2 separate regions of the Homo sapiens genome follow, and region 1 is linked to region 2. The links are contacts of gene promoters, found by promoter capture Hi-C in human tissues and cell types (Jung and others, 2019). All regions are on one chromosome and are shown on one strand. The core of a region is centred on a gene start or on the middle of the fragment in contact, and the rest is flanking DNA. Distances in the headings are between cores, read along the strand shown. Region 1 overlaps PCDHA1 (protocadherin alpha 1). Region 2 holds the start of PCDHAC2 (protocadherin alpha subfamily C, 2).

Region 1 (7,344 bases), core at 3,340-5,839, 40 kb after region 2:
CAGAGGCAGCAGCAGCCGCCAGCGCCAAAGAACGAGCAGTCCAGGGGCTGGGCCGGAAACGGCTATAATCATTTAATAGCCTTTGCCGGCTGCACTGACTTAGCAGAGTGGGCGGTAGGCAGGCTCCAGAGTGCTGTCTGGCAAGATAGTCCCCGGCTTTAATCAAAATGATGGGTTTTCTGGAAGCTCTTTATTAACCTCAGCACTGAAATCCCAGAGCTGGTAACAAAGGGATGAATGGGGAGCAAAGGGGCGGGGCCGAAACCTGGAGGCCGGGCTGCATCCGCACCCCTTCCCCCACCTCCACTCCTTTCAACTCATTCTGGCTTAGGGCTCCTGCTGGCATCTCTGTGCCTCCCAAATAGTAGTAACAAAACAGGCAATAACCATAATAATTGGCACATTTGTATAACGCTTTAGCATTTTCAAAGGATGACCTTGTTATACAGCTCAGGATCTGAGTCTCCTAGCTGGAGTCAGACTCCCTAGATTTGAGTCCCAGGATCCACCAGTTAGTGACCATGTGACCATTAGTCCTTAGTCCCCTCATCTATAAAACAGACACATAACACAGACAGAGATACTAGAAATGTCTACTTCATAGGGCTCTTGTCAGGACCAAAACCTATACGACGTGCAGATTTGTTTAACTCTGTTGCACACACATAGGAAGGGCACAGTAAATGTTAACTACATCGACAACCCTGTGATGTAGACAGGAAGGGGATCATCTCCATTTTATGGATGAGGAAACTGAGGCTCAGAGATATTTATGTAAATGGCCCAGGACTATGCACTAGTGAGAGAACCAGGGCAAGTCCTCAAGAACAGAAAGAGAACAAAGCAAGATGAAGAGAAGATCAGAAAAGTGAACACCCTCCAACACCCTCCAGCACATGCCCCTCTGAGAGCTTTCCTGAAAATAGTATCCTTGGTCAAAATGAGTTTATGTTCTATTAGGGAAAGTCAGTGTAAATCAGAAAAGCCCTCCTGGCCTTAACAGAACAGTTCCAAATGCAGATGAGGGTGAGTTTAACAGGCCTGGCATTTGCTTCACAATCTTCTGGCCCTTTCCTGGCATTTGCCTTGGCAAAGACTCTGACCTGATCAATCCTAGTCCCTGAGGCTCAACTCCATCAACTCAGGCAGCCAGGGTTAGTTTAGCATGAAAGAGGAAAGCTGGAAATTTTGCCAAAAAGATTCCTGGGCAGTGCCTAAGGGAAGTGCCCAAATTGGATTATAGGATTACATGAAGTGGCCAGCTACTTCCAGAGGGCAGGGTTTTTTGTTTGTTTGCTCTGTCACCCAGGCTGGAGTGCAGTGGTGCAATCTCAGCTCACTGAAACCTCCGCCTCCCGGGTTCGAGTGATTCTTATGCCTCAGCCTCCCAAGTAGATGAAATTACAGGCGTGCACCACCACAGTCTCGCTAATTTTTATAGTTTTAGTAGAGATGGGGTTTCACCATGTTCCCTAGGCTGGTCTTGAACTCCTGGCTTCAAGTGATCCACCTGCCTCAGACTCCCAAAGTGCTGGGATTTTAGATGTGAGCCACCATTCCCGGCCCCAGAGGGCAGTTTTTAAAGTAGAAGTGAAGATCTGTATGCATTTATTAAAATATATGTTGTTCTGATTTTAAAATATATCCCTACCAATTGTGAAGATATCGGCTAATCCAATAAAAAAGCAAAACCATATTTTGTATAATTATGGTCGTATTCTGTTAAATAAACTTTTAAATCCTATTGGGTTGTAATCTGTAGTCTGGGAAGGGCTCTGCCTAACGATTCAGACCCCTACCAGATTTATATGTGTCTGAAATCCTCCTTCTAGCCTCTTAACAGGCCCATTCATTTGGGTCTTGACTGCATCCTCAGTCTTGTCTTTGCCTGAGGGTGAGCTAGGACCCTGGGAGCATAAGGGAGGGGACTTGCCGGAGATCCTAGAAGGGAAAGGAGGCAGCACTGAAAGAAGAAACATTTCCTTGATTGATCATTTGCTGATACTGGCCCCTGGTTGGGGTTAGGGGTAGAAATGTGCTTCTTCCGTTTTCATCTTCTTCAAAAGGGAGTATCTCCATGATTCTGCCCCAAAGGCATGACATTTTATAGGCAAAGCCAGCCAAGTGTCTTGAGTGCTCTTAACCAAAAGGAATTCAGATTAGGAGGTCAGTCAGTGTTTGTCAGATCCTTAAGCTTTTGTTTTACTGGAATGAGTCACAGTCTACATGCTGCTGAGCTCTCAGAGATGTTTGTTTTATACAACAACCAGAACAGGTGAGGCACAGTGGTCTGTGAGGGACTGGAGAGACCACACCTTGTTCTGCTCTGCGGAAGCTGGACATGTGGAGGAGGCACCTGACTAGATCTCTGCCTCCTGGAGTTTAGGCTGAGTCATATAGAACCAGGAAGCTCAGTGACATGTTAAAGTGGATTAACTCTTGGCAGTCCTGCTGTGAGGGGCTCCCTCTGCCAATACACACAGCCATTAATGTCCTTTAACTGTGCAAGATGAACATATCTCTGTGTTCTGCATCTCCAGATGACAGTGCTTAGGCCTCATGCAGAGTCCTGGTTATGGTTGAAGAAAAATTTCCATTTTGGGCTCTGAGGGCAACTAAAGGACTGTGGAGTGGTGCTGAAACCCAGTTTTAGGTGCCGAATCAGAGGTTTTTAAATACATTTCTCTCTTTTGTCTCAGTCTCTTAGAGACAGGACCTGTATTTTAAAGGTAAACAGGCAGATTCTGGCTGAGCTCAATTGCAGATTTGATTAACTTAGATAGATCAAAGTCATTAGTCTCAGAGAAAAAATTTGTTTCTCATCCCTAAAGTGCTATTGTGTCAGCTCTGCCAGGGTGTAAGGAAAAGGGTTTGGAAGAGAGAAGAAAATTTCTTACCCTCTCTCGTCACTGCCTGCTGTAAATTTGCAGTATCATTATCTTGGTCTCCTAAGCCCTGAGAGCTGCATTATATATAATTGCCCATATGTGATACCATTTACTGAATTCTTGCATTGTGCTAAGGATCAAGCTTAGTACTTTACATGCATTACATCATTGTCTTTAGGGACCCCAAAAGTGCCTCATTGGAGAGTTGTTTGGTCTGCTAAAGAGTGGGTACCACTTTCACTTCTCACATCAGTCCTTTCATTCATTCATCCAGCAAGTATTTACTAAACACCTGTTATGGGCCAGGAATTGTGCTAGGCACTGGTGATACATTGGTGAATAAACAGATACATTTTTTGCCTTTGTGAATCTTACAGTGGTAGAGAATAATAGGCCAAGGGGGTGCTGCTTGGCTAGGAATGTCATAGAATGCCTTTCCAAGGAGGTTACATTTAATACAGACTTGAAGAGTGAGGAGTCATGCTAAGAATGGATGAGAGGCTCACGCCTGTAATCCCAGCACTTTGGGAGGCCGAGACGGGCGGATCATGAGGTCAGGAGATCGAGACCATCCTGGCTAACACGGTGAAACCCCGTCTCTACTAAAAATACAAAAATTAGCCGGGCATGGTGGCGCGTGCCTGTAGTCCCAGCTACACAGGAGGCTGAGGCAGGAGAATGGCGTGAACCCGGGAGGCGGAGCTTGCAGTGAGTCGAGATCGCGCCACTGCACTCCAGCCTGGGCGACAGAGCGAAACTCCGTCTCAAAAAAAAAAAAAAAAAAAAAAAAAAAAAAGAATGGATGAGAAATCATTCAAGACAAAAGCAAACCAGATGTGTAAAGATCCTGAGGCAAAAACAACTCCAAGGAGCCAGGTATGGTGGCCTGTAGTCCCAGCCACTTGGGAGGCTGAGACAGGAGGGTCGATTGAGTCCAGGAGTTTGAGGTTACATCAAGCAATGATTGCACCACTGCACTTCAGCCTGGTTGACAGAGTGAGAACCTATCTCTAACAAACAACAATAAAAAAACAATTCCAAAGAGTGTTTGAGGATCTGAAAGAAGGCCTGTATGGTTGGAGTATAATAGTAAGAGGGAGATTTGTAGATGAGAGTGGAGAAGAAATAAAAATCAGATTATTGAAGGGACTTATGTATCATGGTAAGGAGTTTTTTTTTTTTTTCTCAAGGCAGTAGAAAGCTTAAGCAGAGGAGTGATATAATCTGATTTATATTTTTAAAAGAGTTTGCTATATGTATGTTATGCCTCATTTTTTTTTAAATTTTTTATTTTTAGATGGAGTCTTGCTCTGTTGCCCAGGCTGGACTGCAGTGGCACGATCTCAGCTCACTGCAAGCTCCACTTCCCGGGTTCATGCCATTCTCCTGCCTCAGCCTCCTGAGTAGCTGGGACTATAGGCGCCCACCACCACGCCCGGCTAAGTTTTTTCTATTTTTTAGTAGAGACGCGGTTTCACTGTGTTAGCCAGGATGGTCTCAATCTCCTGACCTCGAGATCTGCCTGTCTCGGCCTCCCAAAGTGCTGGGATTACATGTGTGAGCCACCGCGCCTGGCTGTTATACATCAGTTTTTAAAGAGAGACATTAAGAAATAAAGATGACTCTGGCTACTGTGTGGAGGGTTGGAGAGAAGCAAAAGTGGAAGCAGACTGAATAAGGAGACTATTGCTGCAATTCATATAAGAGATGATGGTGTCCTGAAAGAGTGGTGGCAGTGAAAATTGGGAGAAGAGGACAGAGTCAAGATATATTTAGGAGGCAGAAATGACAGGTCTTGATGATGTATTATAAATGGAGAATGAAGAATAGAATAGAGAAAAATGAATAATTAGCTTTGAACTTTCTGGCTTGAGAAATGGGGTAAATGGGGTGTAATTTACTGAAACTGGAAAGATTTAGAAAGGAATAGATTCGAGGAATCAAGAGTTTGATTTCAGATTTCTTCAGTTTGGGATGCCCATGAGATTTCCAACTGGGGATACCAGATAGGCAGTTATACATGAGATTGGAGCACAGAGAGATGTGGGCTTAAAATATAAGTCTGCATCTCATCAGCTTATTCATATGGTATTTATATCTATGGATATGGCTGAGATCCCAAAAGGAGAGAGTGAAGAGAAAATAGAGAAGAGAGTCTAGGGCCAAACCCAAGGAAGCTTCAACACACAGATGAGGAGACTGACAAAGGAAACTGTCAAAGAACAGTCAGAGAGAAAGGTCAGGAGAATGTTTTGATGGTGGGGGCCAGAATATGCTGTCCCAAAATAAGAAGGATTGTTGAGCTGAAGGCAAGTTAAAAGAAGCAGATACAGGCTGGGTGCAGTGGGCTCATGCCTGTAATCTTAGCATTTTGGGAGGCTAAAGTGGACAGATTGCCTGAGCTCAGGAGTTCGAGACCAGCCTGGGCAACATGATGGAACACCATCTCTACTAAAATACAAAAAAAAAAAAAAAAAAAAAAATTAGCCAGGCATGGTGGCATGTGCCTGTAGTCCCAGCTACTCAGGAGGCTGAGGCACGAGAATTACTTGGACCTAGGAGGCAGAGACTGCAGTGAGCTGATATCTCGCCACTGCACTCCAGCTTGGGCAACAGAGCAAGGCTCTATCTCAAATTTAAAAAATAATAATCATGATAATAATAAAAGAAGCAGATATAGGAGAGGTCTTCTGCCCTCCCTGTATTTGCCTAAAAAACCATAAATTTACAAAGACAAAAGTTATCCTACTTCCACCTCCCTCCTCTGCCTCCCACCACCAGGGAGAACAAAGGTTAACCACTGAAGATAACTTTGGACTCTTATTGGCCTGGAAATGGTACTGCTTTACAAATTAGCCTTTATCTGCCATTCATTTGCCTTCCCCCAAGTAGCTACCCATTAGAGACTCAAAGTCCTTAAAGGTCTTTTCCTTTGTCTTACACTTCTTTAAAAATTTATTGTTCTTTGTTGAAGATGCTATATAAGCTGGAATTCTAAGCCACCTTTTTGAGAACTGCTCATTCTCTGGGTGTCTGTCATGTATATATGAAATGTACATGTTAATAAACTTCTGTTTCCTTTTTTTTCTTGTTAATCTGCCTTTTGTAACAGGGGTCCAGTCCATCTAAGAACTTATTGGGGTTATTCTACATGACAAAGAACTCATGAGAATAAGTGTTTCAAGAAGGGGATGACAAATGCTGCTGAGAGGTTTGATAAGATGAGGACTAAAATGTGACCATTGATTGTGGAAGTAATATAATGAACTTGACATGAGTTATGTTAGAAAATTACTGCTCAGGGACACCAAATTAGAGGAGACTGAGAAGTAATAGGAAATTGAAATAGCAGTTGTACCCAACCCTAAACTGTAATTGAACATAAACAGTTTATTTGATGGAGCTTTTCACGTGTCAACCAAAGGAGCAGTGTTAGATACATAAACATTGCTATGATGTCAGAGTTCCAATGTCATGGCCACTGGGATCACTTTGCCCAGACAGACCATTACCCTTCCTCTCCAGCTCTGACTTCTACTCTTCTAGAAGTCACTGGTATACTTTATGGTGTGTCTTCCAATCAGACTCTTGGGAATGTCTTTTATTGAAAACTCCTGTGGATGCATAATCATTTTCCCAAGACTCAGGGCAGATTTCACCTCCTCTGGAACCCCATTAACTTTCTCAAGTATAATTAACAATTTCTTCTTCTGGAGTCCCACAATACTTTACATATACTTTAGTTATTGCATGTATTAAGTTGGTTTCTAGTTGCTTGAGTGTATGTCCAACTAGACTGTGAGCACACTGAGGGAAGGAATTTGGCTTGGAAAGTAAAATTGGCTCCCAGTGTTTTATCTAAACAAATAGGCTCAATTTACAACAGGATTCCATCCTCTTACGCTGTGTATTCCCATCTCTTCCATGCTGCATCCCACCACCCTTCAATGTTATTACAATAAAATTAAGATCAAATAATTTATTCAGCTAATTTTTCTTGTTTTGGACAAAATAGACATCCTAATACATTTATAGCCAAAGTTTAATCTAGACACTAAAAGGAGCATATTTTGCCTTTAGGCTCTGTATTTCCCATCCCGTTCCCAGTCAAGATAATCACAACTGTATTCTTTAGGAAATTCTTCACAAAGAACCAAACATATGTTACTATGAAACTAGATTCTTGGTATCCTGGTGAAAAAACCTGCCCTCTTGCTTGTCTGTAAATACTGGCCTTGGCTGGGTGTGGTAGCTCATGTCTATGATTCCAACACTTTGGGAGGCCAAGGTGGGAGGATCTCTTGAGCTTCAGTGTTTGAGACCAGCCTGGGCAACATAGTGAGATCCCATTTCTATAAAATTTTTTTTAAAAAGCTAGCCTGGCATGGGAGCTTGTGCCTGTAGTTCCAGCTACTTGGGAGGCTAAGATGGGAGGATTGATTGAGCACAGGAGGTC
Region 2 (7,045 bases), core at 1,616-4,115:
AGCTTAACTTTGTTGCATACGCATCTTCCCTATCATGGTTGATTTCCTATATGGCATAGTTAAATGTGTTTATCCGTGTTTGATATCTAAAGGGCCATGCTACATATAGACTGCCAACTAAGGTTTTATCTGATGATAATAAATTGTTGTATTTCATGACGACAGCAACAACAACAATAATGTACTTAACTAGTCACTGTGCAAATTGCTTTACATACATTTTCTCATGTAATCATAATAATAACCGTATGAGTTTTGCTTACTATTGTTTTCCTTAATTAAAATGAGTAAAGTGAAGCTTAGGCTAAGTAACATGTCCATAGCCAAACAGTTAGTCACTGGCAGGAGTGTGACTGACTCCAAAGTCTATATTCCTAATTACTGTGTTCTACTTTTTAATAGAGAGCTCTTGAAGGTCCAAGGAAAGGAATGCATAATGGTGTGGTCAAGGCATTAGTGTTAATATTTGTAGAAAGGGTAATTAACAACAGTCTGAGCAATCACATTCTAACAACTAGTAAGGTTGGCAGGAGCCTCAGTATAATGGTGTGAGGAACGAAATCATTATAGTGCCAAATAGAGTATACCATCTCTTTAGTACAATGTCTTTCAAAATGAGGCTGATTGTGTTGGCTTTATATTTGACTCCTTAATAATTAAGGCAGTAAATTCTAGCTGGAGCTAAATACCTACAAGGCCTAAAACAGCATAATGGACAACCTGGCAGGTGTCCTTGCTGGAAGATGACAAGAGTGCTGAAAGGAGAGTCCTGGTTTTTCTCCCAAGACATGACATTTGGGGGCTTCCATTAAAAAATTACCAAGCCTCTGCCACTGTAATCTCTTCCTTAAGTGCCTATGATTTTTTCACAGTCACAGGTCTATGCCTGGTCAATACCCAGTGGCCAGGTCTCTGAGCTGCGTGCAGAGATGGCAGCGACTTGGAGGGCTGGGAGGAGATAAGGGGAGGAAAGATCACTTTTCATGACAACTTACAACTTGATTCCACTTATAAGCCATTTATTTTCAGAAACAAGTAATGGGTGAGGACACAGGCCAGGTCCACAATTTGTGCACTTGAGAGATTAAGGCCTCCGAGATCAAATTACCACAGCAAACTGAGACAGAATTATTGTAGGGATGTTTGGGGAGGATGCAGAGAGAAGAGGAAGAAGCCAGAGACCCAAGAAAGGAGACAGGAATAGATTTTGATGAAAATTGCTTCCTACTCTGTACCCTTGAGGAAACAAAGAGGACAAATAAGAAGCAGCAGTGATAGGAGGCTGGGCGCTTCTCTGGAATAACACTGGCTAGGTAGTGGAGCATTGATAGTGAGTGTGCTTGGTTGGTGGAACGAAGGGATGTGCTAGTTCAGGCCTTTGAATTCTGGGTGTCAGGATCACAACCTTGGCTCCTTTAACTGTCCGCTCTAGGAGGGAAGCATGCCAAATGTCAGGTCTCACTCTGACTTTGTTCCAGTCCATAGCTAGAAAATGACCCATAGAGGAAGATCTACAGATGACAGAATACTGGGAGATGAAGAGAAAGGACGTTTTAGTGAGTGCTTTTTTTGCACATGAGGCAATAGATTTCAAATTCCTGTGGAAGAAATGTGAGAACCTGGGAAGAGTGAATATTCAGAACTGAGCAGCAGAGGCAATGACACAGCATGGAAAGATTTCCTCTGATCCTTCTACCTTCTCTTTTACTGAAGTGAATTTGTTGTCTCTGTGTTGCCTCTATAGCAGTACAAGAGGAAACTTGGGGACACAGAAGAACAGAAGTCTAAGGAGTCTTATATTTAAGGAAGATAAGCTGCAGTCATTGAAATTGCTGGTTATTGTAAGATAAATCCCAGACTCCCACATTTTGCTTAATGACAGCAGATTTTTTTTTTTTTTTAACTGCAAAGCATTAATGGAATCCAAATTCCAGCCTGGCTTAGGAGATCAACAGTAACGCTCTTGATTTAATGGTTTTGCAGACTCTTGAAGACATTGTCATCCATTAAAGAAAAAATTTTAAATTACTCTTGAAAGAAAATGTCTTGGGTGATAAATGTAAAAGATTTGAAGCAAGATTAGAAAAAGCTTGAGAGAAGAATCTCTTTAAAAATTTTACCAGATTTTCCCCATTGTCGCCAAAATGGGTCAAATAATAGATTTGCCTACAGCTTCATGGAGACTATTTTTTTAAACAGAGCATTTTAAACATTTAAATATTGGTTATTTGCCAAGGCACACACTGAAAATAAGGGCCACTTGGCCGAGAGCAGAATTGAGTCTTGGATCCCAGGATGCTGGTTTTAGGCTTGCTCCCGGAAAGAGGGCAGCATTTGCCATCCCCCTCCTTTTGCCCTAGGAGTTGAGCACTTTCTGCAGTACTTAAGAGTGTCCAGGGAAGATGTGGGAGTCAGGTGAATAGTTCCCATCGCCAGTAACCCCAGAGCGCCTCCCCCTGCGTTGTTTCCTTTTAATGTTAGATCCGCCGCCTGGGTGCCCATACTTAGCTAAGGCCCCTCAGTTTATTTTCCTGAATTGCGCTTGGAGATCTTTTCCTGGGGAGCTGATAGCCAGACTTCTAGGGGCTTGACTGCTTTTCCCAGACTAATCTCCTTAAAGACCCGTTAAGCAGGGGAGAGACGGTGGAGACTGGATGAACTGGACAGTGGGGGTAGGGAGAAAGGGAGTGGCCGTGTTCCTGCGGTCCGCTGGGATCCGGCAGGTCCAGGGTGAAGGAGATGGGGCTGGAGAGGCTGAGCAGTCCGGGTTCGCTGTCCGCCACTTCGGCGCGGAATCAGAGCAGGACTTGCTGAGCCCTCCTACCGCTCCCTTTCCCCCTCCCCCTCTGTCTTCCCTTCTGTTTCCTTTTCCCTCCCCCTGGAGCTGTAGCGGCAGCAGCAGCAGGAAGCCGAGCCGGGTTGAGCGACTCGGAGGCGAGCGGAGGAGCTGGAATATGGGGAGTCAGCGAGGACGGTGGGGCCAGGAGCCCTTGGGAGGGCCTACGGAGGGAGCGGCCCCAGGCGCTTTCTAGAGCGTGAGCGGTGGGGGAGCAGGCGCAGGGTGGCACGAGCGGAGGCGGGGCCCGGGCGTGGGGCACGGCTGGGGAAGCTGCCGCCTCCGGCCCTGCCCGGCTGCCTCCGCCGCGGCCAGTGGCTATGGAGCAGGCGGGCACCAGACCTGCGGCGACAGAGCATCCACGGCTCCGGCGGCCCATGCCCTGGCTGCTGCTACTGCCTCTCCTGCTGCTGTTGCTGCTGCTGCTACCTGGCCCTGCGGCCTCCCAGCTGCGATACTCTGTGCCAGAGGAGCAGGCACCCGGCGCGCTCGTGGGCAACGTGGCTCGCGCGCTGGGGCTTGAGCTGCGGCGCTTGGGGCCGGGTTGCTTGCGCATCAACCATCTGGGTGCGCCCAGTCCGCGCTACCTGGAGCTGGACCTGACGAGTGGAGCGCTCTTCGTCAACGAGCGCATTGATCGGGAGGCGCTGTGTGAGCAGCGGCCTCGCTGCCTGCTCAGCTTGGAAGTGCTGGCGCACAACCCCGTGGCGGTGAGCGCCGTTGAGGTGGAAATATTGGACATCAACGACAACTCACCGCGTTTCCCGCGGCCCAACTACCAGCTTCAGGTAAGCGAATCGGTGGCGCCTGGAGCGCGCTTTCACATAGAGAGTGCGCAGGACCCCGACGTGGGCGCCAACTCAGTACAGACCTACGAGCTCAGCCCCAGCGAGCACTTCGAGCTGGACCTTAAGCCCCTGCAGGAGAACAGTAAAGTGCTTGAGCTGGTGCTGCGTAAGGGCCTAGACCGGGAGCAGGCAGCCTTGCACCACCTGGTTCTCACAGCCGTGGATGGGGGCATCCCAGCCCGCTCGGGTACGGCACAGATCTCTGTGCGTGTCCTGGACACTAACGACAACTCTCCTGCCTTTGACCAGTCCACTTATCGCGTCCAGCTACGGGAGGACTCACCCCCAGGCACATTGGTGGTGAAGCTGAATGCCTCAGACCCGGATGAGGGCTCCAATGGTGAGCTCAGGTACTCCTTGAGCAGCTACACGTCGGACCGGGAGAGGCAGCTCTTCAGCATAGATGCCAGTACCGGGGAAGTGCGAGTAATTGGGGGGCTGGATTATGAGGAAGCCTCCTCCTACCAGATCTATGTGCAGGCGACTGACCGGGGTCCAGTGCCCATGGCAGGTCACTGCAAGGTGCTGGTGGACATCGTGGACGTGAATGACAATGCCCCAGAGGTGGTGCTCACGGACCTGTATAGCCCAGTGCCTGAGAATGCTACACCCAACACCATTGTGGCCGTTCTCAGTGTCAATGACCAAGACTCAGGCCCCAACCGGAAAGTGAGCCTGGGTCTGGAGGCCACACTGCCTTTCCGACTGAATGGCTTTGGAAACTCCTATACACTGGTGGTGAGCGGCCCACTGGACCGAGAGCGGGTGGCTGTCTACAACATCACGGTGACAGCCACAGATGGGGGAATACCGCAGCTCACATCCCTGCGTACACTGAAGGTTGAGATCTCTGACATCAATGACAATCCACCAAGCTTCCTGGAGGACTCCTATTCCATCTACATACAGGAGAACAATTTGCCAGGTGTGTTGCTCTGTACTGTGCAAGCCACAGACCCAGATGAAAAGGAGAATGCAGAGGTGACCTACTCCCTTCTGGAGAGGGAGATTCAAGGGCTGCCAGTCACCTCCTATGTCTCCATTAACAGTGCCAGTGGCAGCCTTTATGCTGTCAACTCCTTTGACTATGAGAAGTTTCGGGAGTTCTTTGTGACTGTGGAGGCTCAGGACAAGGGGAGCCCACCACTGAGCAGCACTGTGACTGCCAACGTATATGTGGTGGACATGAATGACCATGCCCCTCACATTCTGTACCCTACCTCAACCAACTCGTCAGCAGCCTTCGAGATGGTGCCTCGAACTGCCCCTGCTGGCTACCTGGTCACCAAAGTCATAGCTATGGACTCAGACTCTGGGCAAAATGCTTGGCTTTTTTACCATCTAGCCCAGACTTCTGACCTGGACCTCTTTAAGGTAGAGCTGCACACAGGAGAAATTAGGACTACCAGGAAGATGGGAGATGAGAGTGGTAGCACTTTCAACCTGACCGTGGTGGTCCGAGATAATGGAGAGCCATCACTATCAGCCTCTGTGGCCATTACAGTAGCTGTGGTGGATAGGGTTTCCAAAATCCTCCCTGACACTCAGAGGCATGTTAAGAGCCCTCGGACATACTCTGAAATTACCCTTTATCTAATAATAGCATTAAGCACAGTGTCTTTTATATTTCTTTTGACAATCATCATTTTGAGCATCATCAAGTGCTACCGCTACACTGCGTATGGCACTGCATGCTGTGGAGGCTTCTGTGGAGTAAGGGAAAGGTCCCCTGCAGAACTGTACAAACAAGCCAACAACAATATTGATGCCAGGATACCGCATGGCCTCAAAGTGCAGCCTCACTTCATTGAAGTTCGAGGGAATGGCTCCCTCACCAAGACCTACTGCTACAAGGCCTGTCTGACAGCAGGCTCAGGGAGTGACACTTTCATGTTTTACAATACAGGGGCCCAGACAGGACCAGGGCCTTCGGGAGCCCAAGCAGCAGTGACTGACAGCAGGAATCTCACAGGCCAAAGTGGTCAGAATGCTGGGAACCTGATTATTCTCAAAAATGAGGCTGTTTCTCAAAATGAGGTGAGACAGTGGTCAGGGGGTCTTCTACAAACTCATGCATTTGTTACACATCCCCCAATATCCTGTGATTTGGCTTTATTGAGTCATTAACAGTGACAAGAGTTATCTGGTAAACTGAGTATATATAGTATCCACAATTTGATCATAATCTGCTATTTCCTCTCTAGAAAAATAGCACTAAAGAATTGTTTTATTTTTCATTTTCAGAGGCATGAAGCCTTGTCCATAAAATTGTTTGAGAAGTGAGGATTAGTCTTAATATTTAATGCTAAAACACAGATTTGTAGAGAAACAGGACAGGCCTTGGAATAGGGATTATGTTTTAGGGAGTAATGTTATGAGACTCAAGGAGAAATGGCCTCTGCTGTATCATCTACAGGGAAATTTTTCTTTTGAAATCCTATATGAGTGATGTTTCTTAAAAAGCTCTGAGGCCTCTAGGGGCTATCATAGTCACCACTATCTGCTGTCTCTGTTTATACTCTGGACTGTCTACAGTGGAAATTATCTAGTTAATATTTCTGGTACTTGCACTGAACCTATGTGATAGGATCCTCTGGAAATGCATGTCACAAGTGATAAAGCTGTAGTATTTAGACATCATACTGAAGCTAAAGTTTGCTTTGGCTGTATGATGTGGCAACTCTTCTGTAGAGGGCTGTCAGAGGGAGTGGATGATGGTGAGGCAGAGAGATTAAGTACCAATTTGTCTGGTTGGTCCAGGGAGGTATTAGAATGAGTGGATTAGGGGTGTGGGGGGATGGTGAAGACCAAGAGAAGCTGGGATTAGAAGGAAGAGAAGGGAAAAAGAATTCTCCCAATAGTCACCTTTCTTGGCATACTCTGAATTCATTGTAAGAGGATTTCCCTGAATTTAGCTTAAATGCAGCCTGTAATCTTCTGATTTTCTGTTGACAGTTTCTATGGTTTTGATGAGATGTAAAGTAGCCTTTTCAAGTCCTTCATGTCTTTAAGTTAAATGACAGTACTTCCAAAGCATGCATTCATTTTCTGGATCTAAAATTTGATTTGCTATAGCTTCAAAAGGCTGGCTTGGAAAGTGGATGGCTTACCCTACAGTAAGGTGTAGAGGCAGGTGTTAGTATATGCACTAGTTTTGAGATTTAAGTAGGTATAAGGCCAGCTTGTTCATTATTATGAAGAATGTACATAAATTATTAGAAAGTAGATGAATATGTGTGTGTGTTTGTGTTGTGTGTTCGTCTCCATATGTATGCTTGAAATAACAGAGATATGCTTTGTGATACTTAAAACTTGGATTTCAAAAGCCAAAATTTTGTACCATAAATAGTGATGAATTGTT

What was found. Contacts are between HindIII fragments. The study calls those that stand out against the background at their distance.
Region 1: a contact is called between a fragment that was not itself captured here and the fragment with the promoter of PCDHAC2 in region 2, in 1 of the 25 tissues and cell types used here (dorsolateral prefrontal cortex).

Annotation. Positions count from the first base shown.
Region 1 is chr5:141,002,048-141,009,391 of GRCh38, forward strand. All of the region lies in intron 3 of PCDHA1 (protocadherin alpha 1), which reads left to right. All of the region lies in intron 3 of PCDHA2 (protocadherin alpha 2), which reads left to right. The region is part of intron 3 of PCDHA3 (protocadherin alpha 3); the gene reads left to right. All of the region lies in intron 3 of PCDHA4 (protocadherin alpha 4), which reads left to right. It also overlaps PCDHA5, PCDHA6, PCDHA7, PCDHA8, PCDHA9 and PCDHA10, and 7 more genes. Among named protein-coding and RNA genes, the nearest start is that of PCDHAC2, 39 kb to the left of the region's middle. RefSeq lists enhancers at 1-474, 475-1,068, 2,257-2,849. The HindIII fragment of the contact is 3,954 bases long and covers 2,613-6,566 here.
Region 2 is chr5:140,963,611-140,970,655 of GRCh38, forward strand. PCDHAC2 (protocadherin alpha subfamily C, 2) reads left to right here and starts at 2,866. Exons shown (of 4, transcript NM_018899.6): 1 at 2,866-5,721. The coding sequence starts at 3,157. All of the region lies in intron 1 of PCDHA1 (protocadherin alpha 1), which reads left to right. The region is part of intron 1 of PCDHA2 (protocadherin alpha 2); the gene reads left to right. All of the region lies in intron 1 of PCDHA3 (protocadherin alpha 3), which reads left to right. It also overlaps PCDHA4, PCDHA5, PCDHA6, PCDHA7, PCDHA8 and PCDHA9, and 6 more genes. The HindIII fragment of the contact is 4,896 bases long and covers 1,194-6,089 here.